Regions from separate parts of the Homo sapiens genome. Here region 1 is linked to region 2. Evidence: promoter capture Hi-C in 16 types of primary human blood cells and fetal thymus (Javierre and others, 2016). All regions are on one chromosome and are shown on one strand. The core of a region is centred on a gene start or on the middle of the fragment in contact, and the rest is flanking DNA. Distances in the headings are between cores, read along the strand shown.

What was found. Contacts are between HindIII fragments. The CHiCAGO score rates a contact against its expected background, and 5 or more counts as called.
Region 1: a contact is called between a fragment that was not itself captured here and the fragment with the promoter of HAL in region 2, in 1 of 17 cell types (M0 macrophages). The highest score is 5.7, in M0 macrophages.

Annotation. Positions count from the first base shown.
Region 1 is chr12:98,459,934-98,466,546 of GRCh38, reverse strand. No RefSeq gene overlaps it. Among named protein-coding and RNA genes, the nearest start is that of TRD-GTC1-1, 40 kb to the left of the region's middle. RefSeq lists a silencer at 2,445-2,818. The HindIII fragment of the contact is 1,197 bases long and covers 878-2,074 here.
Region 2 is chr12:95,992,286-95,999,346 of GRCh38, reverse strand. HAL (histidine ammonia-lyase) reads left to right here and starts at 3,003. Exons shown (of 21, transcript NM_002108.4): 1 at 3,003-3,269; 2 at 3,356-3,683; 3 at 4,354-4,414; 4 at 4,522-4,549; 5 at 5,183-5,257; 6 at 5,349-5,421; 7 at 5,509-5,575; 8 at 5,859-5,896; 9 at 6,542-6,667. The coding sequence starts at 3,437. It overlaps LOC102723340 (a long non-coding RNA gene), which reads right to left and starts at 2,865. Exons shown (of 4, transcript XR_945237.4): 1 at 2,717-2,865; 2 at 920-1,016. RefSeq lists enhancers at 596-655, 1,102-1,396, 2,621-2,790. The HindIII fragment of the contact is 1,685 bases long and covers 2,872-4,556 here.

The DNA.
Region 1 (6,613 bases), core at 227-2,726, 2.5 Mb before region 2:
AAATCTGTGCATTTAGAAGAGTAAGGTTTTCTGAATATTATCTCAAATGGAAAAGCCCAAGTTTACTCAACCTGTGATTCACACAGAGGTCTAGGTCTCATAAAGACTGCTGAAAATCAAATCCTCCTCTTCACCCTTTTTCCATGGACTGAACATTTGGGCTTTGGGTTCCTATAAATATACTCTGAGTTCCTGTTTACAGTGTTCCTAGGCATCCTGCCTTGCTGCACAAGATGGAGTTTTACAATGTCCAGTGTTACCTAATGGCTTCTTTAAATTGCAAATTCACCTTACCATCCTTGGTTGTCTCTATGGAGAGAAAACTTAATAAATCCCCAAATACAACCCCACAGAGACCTGTACATGCACATGTACTGAACTCAGAAAACAATGAGTCATGCAATCAACTAGTGTTCATCTATCTTCTTAAAATAGCACTTGAAGTAATTTATTATTAATAACATTTTCTGCTGGGCACAATGGCTCACACCTGTAATCCCAACACTTTGGGAGGCTGAGGCAGGAGAATTGCTTGAACCTGGGAGGTAGTGGTTGCAGTGAGCCAAGACTGCGCCACTGCACTCCAGCCTGCGTGACAGAGTGAAACTCTCAAAAAACAAAACAAAACAACATTTCCTGAGTTTTCAAAATCAGAGAATTGAGCCTATCTAGGGGATCAACTTCTTGATTTACCAAAAATATATTGGTTCAAATGCAGTAAAGAAACTGCAACCATCTTAACTGTAAAATCTGCTGCTTTTAAAACTGGAGAGGGACTCAAGCACCTTGAAATGTCATGTTCACTAACATCTCTCTAGTGTGGTTTGCAAACCACTGGCAAGATGCAAGATGATTTTAGGTGGTACATGGATAAGCTTTCAAATGATTTAATCATCATTTACTTATACTGGGTTGAATAATCTCCCTCTCAAAATTTATGTCTAACCCGAACCTCAGAATGTGACCTTATTTGGAAATAGGGCCTTTGCAGATGTAATTAAATAAGGATCTTGATCTCTGGTATCTTTATAAAAGAAATAAGAGGGATATTTGGACACAAAGACACACAGGGAGAAAAAGGTCATGTGACTATGGAGATAGAGATTGGAATGATGCCTATAAGCCGAGAACACCAAGAAGCCAGGAAAAAGGCATCAGACAATTTTTCCCTGAGAACCTCCAGAAAATCAACACCTTGATTTTGGACTTCTGGCCCCCTGAACTGTAAGAGAATACATTTCTGTTGTTTTAAGCCACTTGGTTTGTAATGATTTGTTATGGTAGCCCTAGGAATCTAATGCATTTATTTATTTATTTTTGAGACATGGTCTCACTCTGTCTCCCAGGCTGGAGTGCAATGGCAAGATCACGGCTCACTGTAGTTTCAACCTCCCAGGCTCAAGAAATCCTCCCACCTCAGTCTCTTAAGTAGCTGGGACTACAGGCATGAACCACCATGCCCAGCTAATTAAAACAATTTTTTTTTTTTTTTTTTTTGTAGAGACGGGGTCTCTCTATGTTGCCCAGACTGGTCTCAAACTGTTGGGCTCAAGCAATCCTCCTGCCTTAAGCGATCCTCCTGCCTTGGTATCCCAAATTGCTGGGATTACAGGCGTGAGCTATTGTGCCTGGCCATTTAAAAATATATTACACAAAATAAACATGATGGTGTTATAAAACCTGTGATTTCTGAGTTGCTAGTGTTTAGACTAATAGTCCCTAAATTTATTTAGGCAGCAAAAAGTGCATTGATTAAAAAAATTAAGTAAGTAATTTCATAGGAGGTAGGGAGATATTGCAAAAATGCTGTGGGTGGTTCATGGCTGGATAAGCAGTTTGGGAAAACATTGCTGTTTGCAGCCTGTGGCTCCTTCAACCTGTAGTGGCATGGTGGGAGATCTAGGTCAACAGCGATCTGCATTCCTAATAACTCTGTGACTTTGGATAAAATATGAATAATAGCCTTGAGAAGCCCCATCTTCCTCAGCAGTAAAATGGGAACAGTAATAAATATCTCACAGGACTTATGTGGGGATTGAGTTCCTTTTCCTTCAGCCTTGAAATATCAAAAGCTTAGTTATCTGAACCAGCTCTGCTGAGTGTGGGGGTGGGGGTGGGCTCCTGGCAGCTGGGTTGATGTACAAAAGAACATTTTGTAATCATTGGCCTCAAATGTGGGTTGCCAGTGATAAATATATAGGGCTGAGCAATATGGGAAGTGAATTGCGATAAAGTGGTAGGAACTGATGCAAAGAACCTCTGATGAATCACAGCTGAAGTCAACTTTCTATTATTTCTGGGTCTTATGCATTTAATGAGTTACAATGTCCTTCATTTCTCCCTCTTCAATATGATCATGTCACAGTTCATAAAAGTGAGGGAAAGAACTCTAGATACAATCTGACTTCTATCTTAGATGTAGGAAAAACCTTTGTAAATTCAATGTTAATTTCTAGAAACACTCTAGGATGGTTTACTAAGCAGATGATATGTGAGCACTTAAAAGAGAATATTTTTTGATCATCAGGAGTTGCATGGATTTTCTGGGATTCAGAATTACTTTGACCAGTCTAAGCACTTGGCTGAAACCAGCAAGGTGAAATGGAGAGGGAATAATAGAGCTAAAATCTACTGTTTCCTAGCAAATGGTTAGGCACTGTGTTAGATGTTATCTCATTTAATCAGCGCTGAAACTCCTGAGTGTAGATATTGCTATTAAAATGCCTTTTTTTTTTTTTTTTGAGGTGGACTCTGGCTCTGTCACCCCGGCTGGAGGGCAGTGGCAGAATCTTGGCTCACTGCAACCTCCGCCTCCTGGGTTCAAGCAATTCTCCTGTCTCAGCCTCCTGAGTAGCTGGGATTACAGGCACCTGCCACCATGCCTGGCTAATTTTTGAATTTTTAGTAGAGATGGGGTTTCACCATGTTGGCCAGGCTGGTCTTGAACTCCTGACCTCAGGCCACCCACCTCAGCCTCCCAAAGTGCTGGAATTACAGGCATGAACCACTGCACCCGGCCGATATTACTATTAAAATTCTTATTTTACAGATGGGGAAACTGACTTGATGAAGTTAAGTGACTTGTCCCAGATTTTGTAAATAGAGATTAAATAGTTCATTCAAGATCATCGAACAAGGCAGTCTATCCCTAGAGCTGGCACTCTTTTCTCTCTCTCTTTTTTTGAGAAAAGGTCTTGCTCTGTCACCCAGACTGGAGTGCAGTGGCATGATCATGGCTCACTATATCCTCGACCTCTCAGGCTCAAGCAGATCGTCCCACCTCAGCCTCCCAAGTAGCTGGGAGCTGGGACTACAGGTGCACACCACCATACCTGGCAAATTTTAAAATTTTTTGTAGAGATAGAGTCTCCATATGCTGCCCAGGCTGCCCTAGAACCCCTGGGCTCAAGTGCTCCTGCCTCGGCCTCCCAAAGTTCTGGGATTACAGGTGTGAGCCACTGCACCCAGCCTGGAGCTTTTGTTCTTTTTTGTGAGATGGAGTCTCGCTCTGTCCCCCAGGCTGGAGTGCAGTAGTGCGATCTTAGCTCACTGAAACCTCCGCCTCCCAGGTTCAAGCAATTCTTCCTGCCTTGGCCTCCCTAGTAGCTGGGATTACAGGTGTGCGCCACCATGCCTGGCTAATTTTTGTATTTTTTAGTAGAGATGGGGTTTTGCCGTGTTGGTCAGGCTGGCCTTGAACTCCTGAGTTCAGGTAATCCACCCACCTGGGCCTCCCAAAGTGCTGGGATTACAGGCGTGAGCCACCAAGCCTGGCTGAGCTTTTGTTCTTAACCTCTGTATTGTGCTATGTGAAAGCTTAAAAAATGTAGAGACCAGGAGCAGTGGCTCATGCCTGTAATCCCAGAACTTGGAGAGGCCAAGGTAGATGGATTGCTTGAGCCCAGGAGTTTGAGACTGGCCTGGGCAACATGGCAAAACCCTATCTCTACCAAAAAAAACCTCCCAAAACCAGAAAACACAACAAAAATTAGCCAGGTATGGTGGTATGCTCCTGTGGTCCTACCTACTCAGAGGCTGTGGTGGTAGGATCGCTTGAGTCTGGGAGGTTGAAAGACTCTGTCAGAAAAAAAAAAAGTAGAAACACAGGAAGGGGAAGAGGGTTCCTAAATGGTACAAGAGAAAGAACTTGGTCTTTGGTGTCAGGCAGGTCTTGTTACAACTTTGGCTGGCTCTGCCATTTAGCAGTTAGTTGACCTCAGGCAAACTACTTAAACTCTACAAACCTCAGATTTCTCATCTGTAAAGTGGATGCAGTAATATATACCCCATAGAATTCCTGGGAGGATTAAGTATGATGAAATATAACCATACAACTAGGATTCATGGGATATGATCAGCATTGTACCAAGTGTTTTATTTTATTTTTGAGACAGGGTCTTCCTCTGTCACCCAGGCTGGAGTGCAGTGGCCTGAACATGGGTCACTGCAGCCTCGACCTCTTGAACTCAAGCAGTCCTCGCACCTCAGCCTCCCGAGTAGCTGAGACTACAGGCATGTGCCACCATGCCCAGCTAATTTTTTGGATTTTTTTTTTTTGTAAAGATGGGGTCTTGCTATATTCCCCAAGCTGGTCTCAAACTCCTGGGCTCAAGCAATCCTCCCACCTTGGCCTCACAAAGTACTGGGATTATAGGTATGAGCCACCACACCCAGCCCTGTACAGAGTATTTTTTTTTTTTTGAGACGGAGTCTCGCTCTGTCACCTAGGCTGGAGTACAGTGGCACAATCTCCGCTCACTGCAAGCTGCGCCTCCTGGGTTCACGCCATTCTCCTGCCTCAGCCTCCCGAGTAGCTGGGACTACAGGCACCTGCCACCACGCCTGGCTAATTTTTTGTATTTTTAGTAGAGATGGGGTTTCACCATGTTAGCCAGGATGGTCTCGATCTCCTGACCTTGTGATCCGCCTGCCTCGGCCTCCCAAAGTGCTGGGATTACAGGCGTGAGCCACCTGCCCGGCCATGTACAGAGTATTTTAATTAAGGCAATTTACTTAATCTTTACAACAACGCTTTGAGGCAGGTATGCTCATCATTACTATTTTACAGATGAGCAAACTAAGGCTTAGAGAGATTAAGCGACTTGCCCTTGGTTACACAGTCAGCCCATGGCAGAGCAGGAATTCAAACTCAGGAAGTATGAATCCACAGTATAAGCTCTCATCTGCTTTTACTGTGTTACCTTCCTATGTGAAAAAGACTTGGAAGTTGGAGTTATATACAAGCTTGATAGGATTCTACAAGTATAGCAGCTTGCAAAAGGCCCTAAATTCAGATTTAGGGTACATTTATACAAAAATGGCATCCAGTGCATATATTCTGTGCTGTTTTGATTGCATCTGCAGTATTGTGTTCAAATTTGAATGATACATTTTATTTTTTATTTTTGCTGAGACGGAGTTTCACTCTTGTTGCCCAGGCTGGAGTGCAGTGGCACAATCTCGGCTCACTGCAACCTCTGTATCCTGGGTTCAAGCGATTCTACTGCCTCAGCCTCCCTAGTAGTGGGATTACAGGTGCCCACCATCACACCCGGCTAATTTTTTGTATTTTTAGCAGAGATGAGGTTTCACCATGTTGGCCAGGCTGATCTCGACTCCTGACCTCAGGTGATCCACCTGCCTTGGCCTCCCAAAGTACTGGGATTACAGGCGTGAGCCACCGCGCCCAGCCCGGATGATACCTTTTAACAGAGATACTGAGAAATGGAAATAACTACGATGATGACAGAGGTTGGAAATAGTCGCAAGAGAGAAACAGCTGAAAATGTTTTGGTTTGATGAAGGCATGCAAGGGGTCAGAGAGGTAGATGTCTTTGGGAAAGGCTGTCCAGATAGGTTGACAGTACCTTGAGTCCTCTTAGTTCTTGGTCTTGCAGGTGCAAGGATTTCACTTTATCAGTTAATTAGTATTCAGAGTTGATCTTGGCAACTGACTCATTCTAACCAAACTTGTAAGAGACTGTTGCATATACCAGAATGCCAATTAATTAACTTAAAATTAGGAACATAAGCACCAAACAGATTTTATACATGTATTTGTTGATCAGAGCATCTTGTTTTTCTAGGAGTTTTATCTTCTGTCAGCAAATATACATAAAAACTGTGGGCCGGGCATGGTGGCTCACGCCTGTAATCCCAGCACTTTGGGAGGCCAAGGTGGGTGGATCACCAGAGGTCAGGAGTTTGAGACCAGCCTGGCCAACATGGTGAAACCCCGTCTCTACTAAAAATACAAAAATTAGCTGGATGTGGTGGCAGATGCCTATAATCCCAGCTACTCAGGAGGCTGAGTCAGGAGAATTGCTTGAAGCTTGGGAGGCGGGCAAAGGTTGCAGTGAGCCGAGATCATGCCACTGCGCTCCTTGCTGGGCAACAGAGTGAGAATCCATCTCAAAAAAGAAAACAAAACCAAACCCAAAAACTGTGGTAGGCTAAAAGTTGTTAGCTTGCAGGTAGGGTAAAACTGCAGACTCTTCTCAATTTCTGATTTAAAGTCATGGTCAAAAACTGATATCTCATATTTCATTCACTGATTTTATTAACTTGATTTATATCTCATTTTATTAATTTGTTTTATTCACATTTTATATGT
Region 2 (7,061 bases), core at 1,754-4,253:
AGGCTGGAGTGCAGTGGCATGACCATAGCTCACTGCAGCATCAGCCTCTGGGTTCAAGCCATCCTCCCACCTCAGCCTCTGGAGTAGCTGAGACTACAGGCATGCACCACCATGTCTGGCTAATTTTTGTTTTGTAGAGAAAGAGTTTGGCCATGTTGCCCAGGCTGGTCTCGAACTCCTGGGCTCAAGCAATCCACCCGCCTCGTTCTGTCCTCTTGGTCACTTATCTATGCTGCAGTGTGATTCTTTCTCCAGGCTCTGCTCTCCCTTGCCTTCCTTGCCAAGAATACAGAGAAGGGAGTTCAGCTCAAATCACTGGCATAAGATCATGTTCTAAGATTAGACTTTAGCAAATCCATTTACCCAAATACTGCTCTTTAAGGCTTCTGCCCTATGAGCTTACAAGACAAGCTGTAAGTTAATGTCGTTTTTAGTTATCACTTAGTGATACTGAAAGTGAATTGTGACAAGGGATGCTTGAAGGGTGGCATGGAAGGGTGCTGTGAAGAAGGTAGAGGGCGCTAAAGACAAACTTAATCCTGCTTGCTGGTTTACCTAGGGGCCAGCTCGGTGCAGTTCACATTTCTTCAGTTCAGCTAGTAAGCATATGCTAAATGTCTTTGTGCCAGATCGGATATATACATAATTATGGATGAACACAGACAAGTAATTTCCTAGATAATACTAAAGAAGAGCTATGCTAAGGCATCCCAGAGAAGGGCCACTTAACCCAACTGAAGAATTTAGGGAATGCTTCCTGGAGAAGAAAAGGCCTAAACAGGCTTAAGGAGTAAGAAAGATCTAGACAGGCAAAGGAAGTTGGAAAGTGCGTTTCTGGAGAAAGAATAACAAGGAAGACTCTGCTCCACAATGCGTAGGGCCTGAGTTTAGAATCCTCAAACTGCTGGGGGTGACTTACATGGCTGGGAGGTGGTATCACCTGGAAGCTCCTTCCCTCACTAGTCTGATGCCTGGGCTGAAATTACTCAGAAGCTGGTCTCGGCAGTGACAGTCAACTGGAGCATGCAGTAGTTTGGGTTGTTTTGCAGCATGAAGATAGTTAGACCTCTTATTAGTCATCTTTATACAGCTTTATCCATCACCAGACAGTAAGCCTCATGAATGTAGAGCGTGTTTGTTATTTATTTCATCCCCAGCACCTCGCATAGAGCTTGTTACATAACAGGTGTTGAAAAAATATTTGTTAAATGAGTCAAGGAATGAATGGGGGGGGGTGGGGCAGAAGGTTAAGGTGGTTCACATGTGCAGTCCTCAGTTTTCTCACAGATGTAGGAAGTAAGGTCTCCTTCTGAGAATTAGAGGTGGATGTCGAGAAGGTCCTGGCAGAGGGGTCAAAGTTTTGGAAAGTCACTGTGGGCTGGATGGAATAAAAGGGCAATACCATCAAACTATGTGATCACAGGACTTTCTCTATCAGTGTCTTCTGCCTGGGTGAACAGATATGACAGTTTCTTTTAATTTTAAACAGGGTCTTGCTCTCACCCAGGCTGGAGTACAGTGGTATAATCATAACTCATTGCAGCATTGACTGCCTAGGCTTAAGCAATCCTTCCAAGAGATGGCTGTTTTTTGTGATGACTAAGGGGATGGGTGTTATTCCAAGTGTAGACATAAGTTTAGGGATGCAAAGGAATCTCAGAGTGCTTAAGAAAGAGTGGTCCAGTGAGCGACTAGGGACCAGCTTCCTAGGATAGTAAGTGAGGATGCTGGTGGGAAGTGGAGGGATGAAGAGACTGACTGGAGGTCAGGTCCAAGGCTGGCAGTGACTAGAGTAAAAGGGCAGCTGGAAGGTTGTGGTCAGAAGGTGGAATATTGGAATTTCAGATTTCTTAAGTGTGTCAAATTCAGGTCGTGACAGATTCCAGGGTGATTTCTTAAGTGTGTCAAATTCAGGTCATGACAAATTCCAGGGTGCAGTCATGGTGTGGGTATCTGAAGAGCAAGTTTCAATAAGGCTCAAGGAAGGGTAGCTATTTGTACGCTTCCTGGGAAGCTGTCAGCAGATGAGAGGGACTCTGGGTATGAGTATAGGTGTTTTTCTTGAGCAACCATGTCTCTCTTCCCAACAGAAGTCTGATTTAGTGGAAACAGACTTTTCAGGATTTTTCTAGTGCAATAATCAAATCTCTAAAAATTGGCTTACGATGAAAGTGCTGCTTAGTCAAAATAGCATCTGCATATCTTTGATGCCGTAATCATGCTATCCAGAGTTCCTTAATACCAATGGTAATAAGGCGGGTGCAGGGAGCAGTTATCTGTGGTGAAGAAGCTTAATTGGGTGAGGGATATCCATGTGCCAAGATGAAAGAGCATTTATGGAACTTTATAGCTTTATGATTCATACAGAACATTTATAAAGCATTATAGTTACATGGAGTATTGGTGTCCAGATACTAGTAATCACAGACACTTCTATAATATTTCCACTATGCCAGGTGTTGTGTTGAGGGCTTTACATATATGAACTGACTTCATCCTCCCAATAGCCCTTTGACATATATACTATCATCATTACCATTATCTTCATTTTACAGATGAGGCAACTGAGGCCCAGAGAAGTCAAATCACTTGCCCACAAGTCATACACTTAGCAAATGGCAGAGCCAGGATTTGATCACAGGTAAATCCTGCACATACTGGAAGGAGGCAGTTAGCCCCTAGGCCTTCTGATAAGGAAATACAGGGTAATACTCACCTAATCAAGGCTAATAAGTAGTAGAGCTGGACTCTCATCCACGGCTGTCTGAGCCCCTAATCTCCAAGTCAGAGTGGTTCATTTGCCCAGATGACGACCTTTAGTTGTGAAAATGATCTCTGGCCTTTGCAGTCTTCCCTGGTGGAAAGAAAGCTTCAGAAAACCTTACTGGTGACAGGAAGTAGTTGCTCAATACATGTTTGTGGAATAAACAAATGAGTGACGATTGCCACACTCCCAGTGTCACAGTTGGCCCACAGAACACGTTTTACAGTTGAGTAATCTCAGATAAAGACAGGAACATGGTGTTTATAAGCTGCCCTTAATGGCAGAGAACACAGACAGAAACGAGGGAAGAGAGAGAAATTGGGGACCCTGAAGAAAGGGGGCCAGCAGCAGGTAGGTGCCATCAGGGACAAGAACAGCACCTCCCAGGGTGGGAGACCCCAGGCCTTTCTGGCAGCAGGTCTGGATGGAAAGTGGACAGGAGGCTCACCCGTCTGCATCCCCTGCTCCTGCCCCTGCTCGGCTACAAAAACCAAAGGGACAGCAGGTACCTCAATAAATATTTGTCCAATGCATGAATGAGTAAAGGTGAAGGAGGGGGAGTGGTTTGAAAGTCTATTCTCATCCTTCCAGCTGACCACACCCCGGTAGCCACTCCTGCATAAAGCTCTCCCCTCCTGTGACCAGCTGAGGACCTCAGGCTGCAGCGGAGCCATGCCCAGATACACGGTGCACGTACGTGGGGAATGGCTGGCAGTGCCCTGCCAGGACGCGCAGCTCACTGTGGGCTGGCTGGGCCGGGAGGCCGTGAGGCGCTATATCAAGAATAAGCCCGACAATGGTGGCTTCACCTCCGTGGATGACGCGCACTTCCTTGTGCGCCGGTGCAAGGGCCTGGGCCTGCTGGACAACGAGGACCGGCTCGAGGTGGCCCTAGAGAACAACGAGTTCGTGGAAGTGGGTGAGTGGCTGCAGGAGAGGGCCGCGAACGGGTGCGGTTTGGCCTGGCTTAGTCTTTGCAGCATTGAACCCCCACCTCAGGGAAAATGATGAGCAGAGGTCAGGCTTGCCGAGGCTGGCCCTGTGCAGGCACATGCCACGCCTCTGGGGATCTTAAGTCCTCACACAACCCTGTGAGATGGGTAGGATTCTCCTCCACCTCTGATGGAGGAGAAATCAGAGAGGAGGTAACTTACCCAGACTCCAGCAGCTAGTAAGTAACAAAGACTAGACTGGTACTCAAGGCTGCAGGTCTGAATCCCTTTGCAGTGACTGAATCATTTTGAGGTTATTTTGCCTTTCGAAAGAATCCACCCCCACCCCCAGACTGGAGGCCGGCAGCATAGCATCAGTTCAGATTTTGAAGAAAATAAAGCTGGGAATGGGGATGGAAGTGGAATTCTGTCTTGAACTTTCATCTAAACCCCTGGTCTCTGCCCTGACACCTACCTTTCTGCTTTTTGCTCTCCTCCTACATAAAGATGCTAAGACCACATGAAACCATCTGAAGCAGTTTTAAAGCAGCCATTTCTATAGAATTCATGGGCCAATGATGGGCCGTTCCTTGGTTTAACAGGGGGAACATGGCTGTACAATGTGATCTGTAACGAGTCTCCCGTGCATTGTTTTAGTTATAGAGGGTGATGCCATGTCTCCTGACTTCATTCCATCTCAACCAGAAGGAGTTTATCTGTATCCTTTCCCACAGGCTCTTTGGTCTGCTCTGGGGGTGGCTCCTGCAGATGGTGGGGCTGGGGGTTTTTCCACACCACCCTATATGTTCCTTTACCTGGATACAGATACAGCAAGTACCGGGAGCCTGAAAAGGTAAGCTTCAAACCACTTTCTTTTTCTTCAGAAAATTAAGGCCCCTTATTTAAGAGGGAGGAAAGCCAGGAAAACTTCTGAGAAAACACTGTCAATTAGAACAGGGCTGGCCGGGAGCAGTGACTCATGTCTGTAGTCCCAGCACTTTGGGTGGCCGAGGTGGGCAGTTCACTTGAGGTCATCAGTTTGAAACCAGCCTGGCCAACATGGTGAAACCCCATCTCTACTAAAAGTACAAAAATTAGCCAGGTATGGTGGCGTGCACCTGTAATACCAGCTACTCAGGAGCCTGAGGCACGAGAATTGCTTGAACCCAGGAGGCAGAGGTTGCAGTGAGCCATGTTTGTACCACTGCACTCCAGCCTGGGCTGGAGACTCTGCCTCAAAACAAACAAACCAACCAACCACAGGGCTTTATCCAGCTCTGTAGTGGGGAAAGGGGGCTTGGAAAGGCATTATGCTTTTGCACCAATAAGCCTCCTCTTATGCAAGATGCATTTTTATTTAGCATATTCATGTTTCACGCAATGATCAGATCTCTGAAATGTCAGTTTGGTTCTGTTGGAGGTGTCCCTACTCTGGTTAGAATAATCAAGCTGTTCAGACTCACTGAGATCCCCTTCTTTTGTGTAGTACATCGAGTTAGATGGAGACCGTCTGACCACGGAGGATCTGGTCAACTTGGGAAAGGGACGCTACAAAATAAAGGTATGGGGAGGGAGGGGAAAGATGTCCTCTGGCCATTTTTGTTGCCCGTGGAAGTCTTTAACGTGCTCAGTTCTGATCAACATTTTCCTAGCTCACCCCAACAGCTGAGAAGAGGGTGCAGAAATCCAGGGAGGTCATAGATAGCATCATAAAAGAGAAAACAGGTATCTTTTTATCTTTATGTTATAAATATTTTTATAAACAAACAAAAATCCCTGCATTTAATTGCATAATGTCTCTTTTTATTCTAGTTGTTTACGGTATTACTACAGGTTTTGGGAAATTTGCCAGAACTGTAATTCCTATCAATAAGCTACAGTAAGTTTAAAACACACATATGTTCACGTTCCACCTACCCTCATCTTTTAAATATTTTTCAACAAGGGAAATAATTCACATTTGCCCCAATTTACAGATCAGAGGATGAGGCTTGGGTTACCTTGCATGTGAGTTGGTATTGAAAACCCAGGCTGGCTGGTTTCTCCCATTGCCTTCCTTCTGTCCCTCCAAGGATTTGACCATGATTCCCTTCATTTTCCCAGCTGAGGGAACATTTTCTCACTGCAATGTATCTAAGAGGGTTTTTACCTTTCTGTTGCAGGGAGCTTCAGGTCAACTTAGTACGCTCACATTCTTCAGGTAAGTCAAAACGTTGGGTGCCTCCTGGATCTTGTGTGATTAGATGAATAAAGCACAGCACAGTGTGAGTTATCCAGTTATAGTCACAAAAAGCTAGTTTCTCAAAACAGCATTTCAAGAACTAGGTGCCGAGGTGAGAAGGGATGCAGAAAGAATCAGCTGAGCCTCAGAAAAAGAAATGGGCCAGGTGGAGGGATGGGGTTGGTATGAGAACACATGTCCCATGCCATGGAGACACTGTTGCATTCAGGGAAGGAAATAAAGCCTGGAACTCAAAGAATGAGTTAGGATGGGCATAGTGAGATGGGAAAGACTGTCACCAATCAGCACCCATCAGATGGTAAAGAAGTTGTGCTAAGGACTCTGGATGCTATTCTAAAGGTGAGTGGGAGGTCAGGGGTTCACTGAAGCTTCCCAAAAAGGGGAATTGAGAAGGCAAAACTGGGGTCTTAACCTTTGTCAGGAAGATGGGGCTCAGACAAGTCAGACAGGCAGGAGGGAGAGTAGTCCAACTACCTGAGCCGAGAGGAGAAGGTAATAGCAGGCTGGGCTACATATGGGAAAGATTGGAGGGAGGGAGGGCAATTGTCAGGAGACAAAAAGGAGTTTGCTTTTCTTGGAGAAAACATCAATTCTGTTTTGCAGGTGTTGGGAAACCACTAAGTCCTGAGAGGTGTCGGATGCTCTTGGCTTTAAGGATCAATGTCTTAGCCAAAGGATACAGTGGCATTTCCCTGGAGACCCTCAAACAAGTCATAGAAATGTTTAATGGTAATGCAATGGCTCCCTAGACGGAACCTCTGTGGAGGCTGGACATGTACCACAGGGTAGAATTGATTGGCCAGATGCTGAGGAATCACCTGAGAAGACATGAAATAATTGAAATGAGTGGGAAATGCCGTTGGCAAAAAGTAGGATAGTTAGATGGGGGAAGAGGAGAAAGTCGATCAGAGATGCTTACTCCTATGAACTTTAACTTATTCTGCAAGACCCTTTCCCTAGCATTTGTCATCTTCAAGACTAGAACAGGACTCTTAAGTCTGCCCTTACATTCAAGCCTGCCTAGAAGAAACTTGGATTAAGTGGTACATGAATATGGTTAGAAAAATTGCATGATATCAATGTCCATCCCAAAGGCCAATTCAGTAGTTCTGGTTGGTGCCTG